Regions from separate parts of the Homo sapiens genome. Here regions 1 and 2 are each linked to region 3. Evidence: promoter capture Hi-C in human tissues and cell types (Jung and others, 2019). All regions are on one chromosome and are shown on one strand. Each heading gives the region's core, a stretch centred on a gene start or on the middle of the fragment in contact. The rest is flanking DNA. Distances are from core to core; before and after follow the strand shown.

Region 1 (3,369 bases), core at 341-2,840, 1.6 Mb before region 3:
TCCTGGGGAAGCTGCTGGCATCAATATTATTATTAGACTTTTGTTTTAAGTTAAGTTTATTATTATTATTAAACTTTTGTTTAAGTTACATGTGCAGGTTTGTTACATAAGTAAACTTGTGTCATGGGGGTTTGTTGTGTAGATTATTTAATCACCCAGTTATTATGCCTAGTACCCATTAGTTATTTTTCCTGATCCTCTCCCTCCTCCCACCCTTCACCTTCCTATAGGCCCCAGTGTGTGTTGTTCCCCTCTGTGTGTCCATGTGTTCCTGTGTGTCCATGTGTTCTCATCATGTAGCTCTCACTTATGAGTGAGAATATGTGGTATTTGGTTTTCTGTTCCTGGGTTAGTTTGCTAAGGATAACGGCCTCCAGCTCTATCCATGTCCCTGCAAAGGACATGATCTCATTCTTTTTTTATGGCTGCATAGTATTCCATGGTGTATATATACCACATTTTCTTTATCCAGTCTATCACTGATGGGCATTTGGGTTGGTTCCATGTCTTTGCTATTGTGAATAGTGCTGCAATAAACATACGTGTGCATGTGTCTTTATAATAGAACAATGTATATTCCTTTGGGTATATACCCAGTAACGGGAGTGCTGGATCAAATGATATTTCTGTTTTTAGGTCTTTGAGCATCCATATTATTTAACATTCTTCAGGTGATGCCAGTAGGACAACTGAGGTTGAGCGCAAGGACTCTGGGTGTTGGGAAACGCTTTTTTATTCTGATGAAAGTTAGCTCTCCTGAAACCACCACCTAGCCATGCTGGTTCTGTCCTCTGGAGCAAAGTCCATTTCTTCTTTTATGTGACAGCCTTTCAAACACGTGAAGTTGATAACTTGCTCTACCACTTCCCTAAGGCTTTCTCTTCTCCAGGCAAAGCCACTCATTTTGTCCACAGTTACTCCTATGATGTGGTTTTATTTCCTTCACCATCCTGAGCACAAGCAGCTTTGTCAGGATGCCACTTACAGTGTGTGTCTCTTCATGCTTTTGTTTCATTGTGAGATTGCTGTCAGCTAAATCCCCCCAATTTTCTCCCACTAAAAGCTTACAGCTTAGTCTGGGAGGTAAGCATGCCAGTAAGCCAAAGCCTCCTCATCCTGTAATTATGAAATTGATTTTTAAAGTCTAAATGCAGGACTTTTATTTACTCTTACCCAATTTCATCTTGTTGGGTTTAACCAATTTAATTCTGTCCTCCAAAAATATTGGTAAGTATTACCTATTGGGTAAGGCATCTTTATATTTTTATTCATGTTATTAATAACAATAATAATAGCCTCTATTGACTGCAAGCACCACCTGATTAGATTGAAAGAGACAGAGATGGAGCTCCAACCTCTAGAAGCAGGAAGTAGACTGAAAATCCGACAAAATCACCAACTCGGTATTCTTATAGAAGAGGAAGATATTCAGGAGCAGAAACAGGAGACCAGAGGGTACAACCAAGAGTATTGGAGAGTACTAGGCTCTAGAAAGGAATTTGCAACACCTATGGAGCTGGATTGCAGAAGTGCTCTGGGGGCCATTGCCAGCTCTGTGCCTTCTGTTTCCCCCTTTTAACGGGAGTGTCTCTTGTGGTTATCCTCTGCTTATTCCACTATCGTATGTGGAGTGTGTGTGTGTATTTGTGTGTGTCTGGGGGGTGGTGGTCAGTAAAGGTAACTTGCCTCTTTAGTTCCTAATAGTCAGATGGTGATGAACAGTACTCAATATGTTGTACCCAAAGGGCCACTCTCAGGGAGCTTCATTTCCACTTGGACAGGATTTAAAGGGTTGAGATGTTTGCAGGATCCTGGGAGGCATAAATGCATTTTGCATGCTAGAGGGATGTCAATAATTGGTGTCCAGAGGCAGATTGGATCTGGACTCTCTAACTGCTTGACCAATGGCATATGGTGAAGTGACATCGTGCCATTTTTCAGGCCTTAGTTTTAAGAAACTGGTAGCATCTACTTTATTAATATCTCTTGAGAGGCTTATTCTTGGAATCCAGCCACCATGTTGAGAGGAAGCCCAAGCTGTTTTGTGGAGAGGCTTTCATGGGGAGGGTCCAACACCCAGAACAACTTGCCAGCCATGTGAGGGAGCCACCTTGGGAGTGATCCTTCACACCAATCCAGATGTCCCAGCTTATAGCAGTAGAGCCGAGATGAGCTGTCCCTGATGAGCCCTGCCCAAAGTCAGATTTAGATGCATGTTAAATCATAGTCATAGTTTTAAGCCACTAAGTTTGGAAGGGTTTGTTTTGAATCCATAGCAGTGCCAGGCACTGTGCTAGCAACTTTTTATATAGTTGATTATTTAATCCTTCAAGTGATGCTATGACTTAGGCATTATTTTCTTCTCATAATAGATGGGAAAACTAAGGCTCAATGAGTTTAACTAACAGCCCAAGGTCATACAAGTAGTAAATGGCGATAATGAGTTTCAAACTGAATATTGTATCATTCTTTGAACCTCTAAAATGTTGAGTGGGACAGGTCCAAGGGCAAGAAAACCATGCAGCCATTTATCGGACATTTATAGAGCACTGCCTGTGGAGAAAAAAGACAGTCTGTCAAAAAGTGGTAGCTTAGAGGGGGGACAGACATGAAAACAAATAAATACAGTTCAGTTTGACATGTGCTAAAACATTTGTATATTACATTCCTGACAGCCAAAGTGAAAGGATGTGACTATACTTCCAGTTCTTTCTCTGCAGATTTTGCACCTGCAGAGATGTGTAGACTGTACTTATATACATGTTTTAATAAACAAGTGATAGCGTACTATAAATATTCTATGATTTATTTTTTTCATCATGTATAAGAGCCCAATATTTTAAACTGATGACCACAGTTTTTTAAACTGCTCTCCTATTAGATGTTTTTAATTTTTTTCTATTGCCCACAGTGTTGCCTAAGTATCTTTATATAAACAGCACATACATAGGTATATTTCTTTAGAAATTATTGACTCAAAGGTTATGATTGTGATTTTAAAAAAATTATTGCCAGAAAAGCTTTACCAATTTGTACTTTCACCAAGAATGCGTGAATGGGGAAATTTCTCCCCTTCTTCATCCCTGTGAACACTGCTTTTTTATCAGTCTGTTAAGTTTTTACCATATTGATGGGAGACTATTGTGTTATTGCTGTTTTAATTTTCAATTTCCTGGTTATCAGATAATTTCATTTGCTTTTGGCCCTGTGAGTATGTATGTGTGTATATGTGTGTGTGTGTGTGTGTGTGTGCATATGTGTGTGTATGGGTGGGTATATATATTTGTGTGTGATATATCTATATATATCTATATATATTTTCAAGACTTTCTGGTAAACAATTTTTTCCTGCTTAATTTTTTTTTTTCT
Region 2 (3,152 bases), core at 462-2,961, 1.4 Mb before region 3:
TCTATAATGAGATCTTTATTTAGCACTTGATCTTTCTTTAGAACCAACTCTCTCAGAAGAAGTCATAGTCAGGTTGTTACTGTGGGTGAAGTCTAAGGTCATTTTTCTTGGAGGCTATGATATCAAACTCAGGACAAAGACTGGCCCAGCCAAAATCTTTCTCAATAATTCTTTATGATTCTGTCATCTGCTAATGGCCTCACAGCTCTCCTTCCTCCTGGGAATACTGAATTCCGTAAACCTACTCACCAAATGCATAGGAGAGACTTTGCTCTTATTTATTTTAATTTTCAAATAGTCTGTCTTATATTTCTTTTCACTAATTTAAGGAGATGCTACCAAGGTATGGTTCACTGGAATTTGGTAAAAAGCCAGTGAAAGTTGAGAATGGAAGAGCAAACATATGTATAACTCAAGAACTTTCCAATTATTTTTCTTCTCAATAGACGTTAAGCTGCTCATCAATCTTTTTATACCCTGATTATATGGTTGAAGAAAATATAAATTCTATCCATTAACTTAGGACTTATTCTTTTCTCCTTTTAGTTGATATTTACTTCTTAATAGTTTTCTTTTGGATTAAAAAAGAAGTTCCACTATACTTTATTCTGCAGTCCTTATGTATTAGACCTAGGAATTTACATTTCATTCAGAGATCAGAGTTTTAATTTTTAAAACTTAATAAAATATTACTATTTTGATAAATAATATTTATATATATGAATGAGCAGACTATATATATTGTAGTTTCTTAACAAAAAAAAATTGTTACTATAAGGAACAACCTCCCTGGACTGTCATCCTTGCTGAATCTGACCCTGGCTGTCATGGAAGATGGTTGGTAGTCAGAGCTGACTTTTGGATGTGTCTGGCTCTTGAAGTTCTGACAGCAAAGCTTTGAAGTGGGGTTCCTGCCTCAGACCCCCCAAACAGCCTTGGTTATAGAACACACAGAACAACCAAGGATGTGTCTCCGTCGTGTTTTCATTAGGCTTCTGTGATGGTTAATTTTATATGTCAACTTGACTGGGTTAAGGGATACCCAGATAGCTGATAAAAAATTATTTCCGAGTGTATCTATGAGGGTGTTCTGGAAGAGATCAGTATTTGAATTAGTAGACAGGGTAAAGAAGATTGTTGTCATTGATACAGGTGGGGATTATCAACCTGTTGAGGGCTCAAATATTATGAAAAGGTAGAGGAAGGGTGAATTCACTCTTTCTTTTTGAGCTGGAACATCCAATCTTCTCCTGCCTTTGGACATCAGGACTCCTGATTCTCAGGCTTTGGATTCAGATTGATTTGTACCACTGGATTTCCTGAGTGGCCAGCTTGCAGACAGCAGGTGGTGGACTTCTTGGTCTCCATAATCACATGAGCTGATTCCTATAATAAATCCCTCTTGTATAACTCATATTTCTACTGCTTCTCTTTCTTTGGAGAACCCTAACTAATATAGCTTCTTCACTCAGGAGATTAAGAGTGATTATCGAGAGTGATTATCTTGTAACTTGAAAAACGACTTCCCATACTAAAAAATCTTTTTTTGCACAAACTTTTTATTATGGGAAAATTCAAATACTTATGTGCAACAGTAGAGTATAATGAACTCCCATGTTTCCAACAATTTGCTTTAACAACAATCAACTTGTGGACAATCTCATATTCTCTGTACCTCCAGTACCTCCTGTATTAGGTAATTTATACAGGTCTCAGGTAGTACTCCTGAGACTGGGTAATTTATAAACACAAGAAGTTTAATTGACTCACGGTTCTGCAGGTTGTACAGGAAGCATAGCAACTTCTGCTTCTGGAGGGGCCTCTGGAAGCTTCCAATCGTGGCAGAAGGCAAAGGGGGAGTGAGATATCTCACATGGCCAGAGCAGAAGGAAGAAGGGAAGTGGGGCAGGTACCACACACTTTTAAATAACCAGATCTCATGAGAACTCACTATCTCAAGGACAGTACCAAGGGGAAAATCTGTCCCCATGATCCAATCTCCTCCCACCGGGCCCCATTTCCAACACTGGGGGTTACAATTTGACATGAGATTTGAGCAGCAACACAGAAGCAACACATAGCACCTCCCCTCCAGGTTATTTTGAGGCAAATCCCAAGCATCATATTATTTTATCTAAACATATTTCTAAAGACATAGGCTCCCCATTTTAAATAAAAACACAATATTATCTCACTTTAATATTCCCTCAACATCACTAAGTATCCAGCGAGTGTTTACATTTCCTTGATTGTACTGTAATTTTTAACCTTTTATTTATTTGAAAAAGTATCAACTAAGACCCATATAGTGTGATTTGCTAACATGCCTCTTATGTCTTTTTTAATCTATATTTTCCCTTGCTCTTTACCTTTTAACCTTCAGGCCTCCCCCTAGTTTGTATTTTGCTGATGCTTCCCCAGATGTAGACACCTGTGGTGTCATTTAACATGTTCTTCTGTTACCTGGATTTCCTATGAGCTGGTATTAGATCCAAATGCTTAAATGGACTAAGGTTCACACTTTTCAGCAAGGTTATTTTACAGGTGGGGTTGGTTCTTCTGTGGGGGACGTAATGTCTGGTTTTTCTCTTTGTGTAGGAAAGGCAGGGTATGTGCTTGACACTCTCTTTACTCATCAGTTCTCAAAATAACAAATTGGTTTACTAGTCTTCTCCAAAGGCAGTCAGTGATTTTACAGTGTTCTTATGAAATTTTGGATGAAATCTATTTGGTATGTTTCCATCTGTTACAGTTAGTGTCCTTACTCATGCTCACCTTGTGCCATCCTTGACCAGTGGGGCCTCATAAGTTGATTTCTGAGTCCTTTGAAGCACTCTGGCTGTCTTTGATGGCTTCCTTGCTTTCCAGTGTGACGGTGCATTGAAGGGCCCTCTTCTACATACCCTGTTTCAGGCCCGGAGTCAGCCATTACTCTGGGATGTCCTGTTCCTTTGTTTTGGGAAACGATATTTGGAGCACCAAGAGACCCTGTTTCCACCATATTTATCATCATTCTTAGATTTATCTATGGAAAGACCTAGGATTTTTTGTTTTAAGCATAAAATGCATCAGGAGTTCCTCCTGGTGCTTCCTGTTTATTTAACTTAATTTAATTTATTGATATATAAGCGTTGTATAAATTTTGGGGTACA
Region 3 (3,360 bases), core at 240-2,739:
ATGATCACACCACTGCACTCAGCAGTGACAGTGAGACCCTGTCTCAAAAATCAAATCGAAACAAACCATATTTGGTATACATACTTATCCTACCCCTAAGTAGAATATCATAATAGGCATTTACTTTAGTAATGCTAAGACAACTACCATTTATGTTCTCTGGAATTATATGAAATAGCCATTTATATAGGTTAGAAATGGTCAAATATGGGCAATTCATGTGTATCAACCTAGGAGGACCTACATTTCCAGTGAATGCTTCTTGCTGAGTCCTAGCACAGGCTGGGCCCCTGGAGATCATTTAGGCTGGTTTGCTCTCTGATAGGTGGAATAACTATAGCCTAGAGGGCTTAAGTCACCTGTCCAAGATCACAAGCCTCTCAAGTTGGCCACAGTGCCTGGACTAGAACTCACATCACCCAAGCCAGTGTCCAGCACTGACTGTCCTAGCAGAGGTCACACATTCCAATAACTCACTGTTTTCATTGCTGTGACCAGTTGGCTCAACTGGGTACAAGACATAAGATCAAGACCATGATTTGAGCTTACACATGTCATTAGTTGTGCCCTGTCTCCAGGCTACAGAATGATCCCCTAATTCCAGCCATTCCTGTCATGAATGTGTGTTATTCATGACAACAGCAATCAGGACACTATTAGGAAAGTAACACTCATTTGACCCCAAAGTCCAGAGTTTTCTTTTCTTTCTTTTTTTTTTTTTTGAGATGGAGTCTCACTCTGTCGCCCAGGCTGGAGTGCAGTGGCGTGATCTCGGCTCACTGCAAGCTCCACCTCCCGGGTTCATGCCGTTCTCCTGCCTCAGCTTCCTGAGTAGCTGGGACTACAGGCGCCAGCCACCACGCCAGGCTAATTTTTTTTGTATTTTTAGTAGAGATGGGGTTTCACTATGTTGGCCAGGCTGGTCTCGATCTCCTGACCTCAGGTGATCCGCCTGCCTCAGCCTCTCAAAGTGCTGGGATTACAGGCGTGAGCCACCGCGCCCAGCCCCAAAGTTTTCTTTTCTTGAAACATGGTAGATCGCTCACATCACCTGGGCCTATAAAAGGCAGCAAAGTCTTTCATTTTTATATCAAGAAGAGAAAACAATATGATTACCTACGTTTACCATGAATCCTCCATTTTAAAAACTCTCAAAATTTTCATTCTAAGGCAATTAACAAAGAAATGAGTAAGGAAAACACAAGAAGGAAAGAAGGAAGAGTGGATGAGGAGCCAGGCCATGTACCAGGAAAATCATTCCTTTTATCATTTTCTGGAAAAGGCACATAGATAACTTTGTTACTTAATTCCTCAAAAAATAAAGAATGTGTGCTAAGACTTACCTATGCAGTGTGTGGGCAGGATGAAATTCCTTTCCAAAGCCAGGCTGTTCTGAACCTTCTTGCTGGCGTTAGCGAGCTCTCTTCTGGGTTGCACACAAGCCTCAGCCTGCTGGGCACCTTCACCTTACAACCATCTAAGCCCTTGCAACTGCAGTCTGCAATCCTATGCTTTTATGAACCCACATGTTTAATCTAATCGTATGTGGAAAGTTAAATACTAACTGGCAGTTGGAATTCACCTTGGTGCCTGATGGGGTGTGTGCCTCAGGGACTCTGGCTTTGGGCAGAGTGGCACAAGTTCCTGCTCTGGGACCCTTCCTGCCAGCTCCAGCCAGGGCAGGGCCTGGGTACAGTGAACATCTTTCCCCAGAAGAAGTCTTCCTCTTAGGGTAGGCTTGGGGGACAACAGCATTCCCTGCCAGAATACGTGGGAAGGGCTGGGTGGGGTGGCTCACGCCTGTAATCCCAGCACTTTGGGAGGCTGAGGCGGGCAGATCACCTGAGATCAGGAGTTCAAGACCAGCCTTGCCAACATGGTGAAACCCCGTCTCTACTTAAAAATGTAAAAATTAGCCAGGTGTGGTGGCACACACCTGTAGTCCCTGCTACTCTGGAGGCTGAGGCAGGAGAATCACTTGAATCCACAAGGCAGAAGTTACAGTGAGCTGAAATCATACCACGGCACTCCAGGCTGGGTGACAGAGTGAGACTCTGTCTCAATGAAAGAAGAAAGAAGAAGAGGAAGAGGAAGAGGAAGAAGGAAGAAGAAGGAAGAAGAAGGAAGAAGAAGGAAGAAGAAGGAAGAAGAAAGAAGAAGAAAGAAGAAGAAGACGATGTGGGAAGGACAGGGCCCCAGGGAGAGGAGCCAAGAACAGCCATCTCTGGGTGGTTGGTATGGGTTGAGGGGGTCAGTATAATTCCAGGCAAGTGCCGTGTTCTGAAGACGCTAAATAAGCTAGATTCTGGTAAATACTCCTCCACGGGACCACATCCAAATGAGTTTATAACAACATTGTTGTCTTGTAAAAGAGAAACGGGCTGCAAGGGTACTAAGGTACTACATGGAGGAGCTGGAAGTTAAGTCCAACAAAGAGGTTTTGAGGTTTTTGTTTGTTGTTGTTGTTTTGAAACAGAGTCTTACTCTGTCACCCAGGCTGGAGTGCAGTGGCGCAATCATAGCTCACTACAGCTTTGAACTCTTGGGCTTGAGGGATCCTCCTGCCTCAGCCTCCCAAGTAATGGGACTACAAGTGTGTACAAAGCCTGGTTAATTTTTATTTTTATTTTTGTAGAAATAGGGTCTTGCTGTGTTGCCCAGGCTGGTCTCAAACTCTTGGCCGCAAAGGATCCTCCAGCCTCAGTCTCCTAAGGCGGTGGGATTACAGGTGTGAGCCATGGTGCCTGGCCCCCAGCAAAGTATTTAAAGACCTAGCAAGAGCTAAACATACTCTATTTACCAAAAGATCCTTTTCTATCATGGTGGGGACCCTTGGAATTGGGAGAACTGAGTCTTTATATTGGCTATCATTTAGGAGTGCTTACCATGTGCTTTTATCGTATTAACCTCAGGTAATCATTGCCACAACCTGATGTGGAAGGTACTGTGAACTTAGCCAAGGGAATCAGGGCACAAGAGGTCTGATGACATGGAGGTGGAGCCATTTGGATTTGAATCCAATTTAAATGGCAGCCACGGAAGTTACACTCACTCACTCAAAATCACTTCAAGGTCATGTGGGTGGTCATTACTCTGTAACTTGTCTCATGGTTTTGTAAAAGGAAGGTTCACTTTGTTTTAAAATTGGAGTTTCACATTAAATGGTGCTCTGAACCATGTGGCTTGAAGCACACTGGGTGGCAAGAGGAAGATAGCTAAGATTTAACATGATCTACAAATTATTGCAGAGTTAACGTTATTAGGTGTATTTTAAAGAAATACGAGGATCTCTGTAACTCCGCAAAAGCTTCTCATTAACACCATTTGTCCTCATGGGTTGTCTTCACTGAACAAGATAGG

Evidence for each region. The method cuts DNA at HindIII sites, captures the fragments that hold promoters and counts their contacts. A contact is called where the count stands out against the background at its distance.
Region 1: a fragment that was not itself captured here is called in contact with the fragment with the promoter of KCNE2 in region 3 in 1 of the 25 tissues and cell types used here (dorsolateral prefrontal cortex).
Region 2: a contact is called between a fragment that was not itself captured here and the fragment with the promoter of KCNE2 in region 3, in 1 of the 25 tissues and cell types used here (dorsolateral prefrontal cortex).

Annotation. Positions count from the first base shown.
Region 1 is chr21:35,918,090-35,921,458 of GRCh38, reverse strand. No RefSeq gene overlaps it. Among named protein-coding and RNA genes, the nearest start is that of LINC01436, 86 kb to the left of the region's middle. The HindIII fragment of the contact is 6,106 bases long and covers 1-3,369 here.
Region 2 is chr21:35,758,888-35,762,039 of GRCh38, reverse strand. No RefSeq gene overlaps it. Among named protein-coding and RNA genes, the nearest start is that of MIR802, 40 kb to the right of the region's middle. The HindIII fragment of the contact is 3,423 bases long and covers 1-3,152 here.
Region 3 is chr21:34,362,135-34,365,494 of GRCh38, reverse strand. KCNE2 (potassium voltage-gated channel subfamily E regulatory subunit 2) reads right to left here and starts at 1,489. Exons shown (of 2, transcript NM_172201.2): 1 at 1,344-1,489. All of the region lies in intron 2 of LOC105372791 (a long non-coding RNA gene), which reads left to right. The HindIII fragment of the contact is 19,800 bases long and covers 1-3,360 here.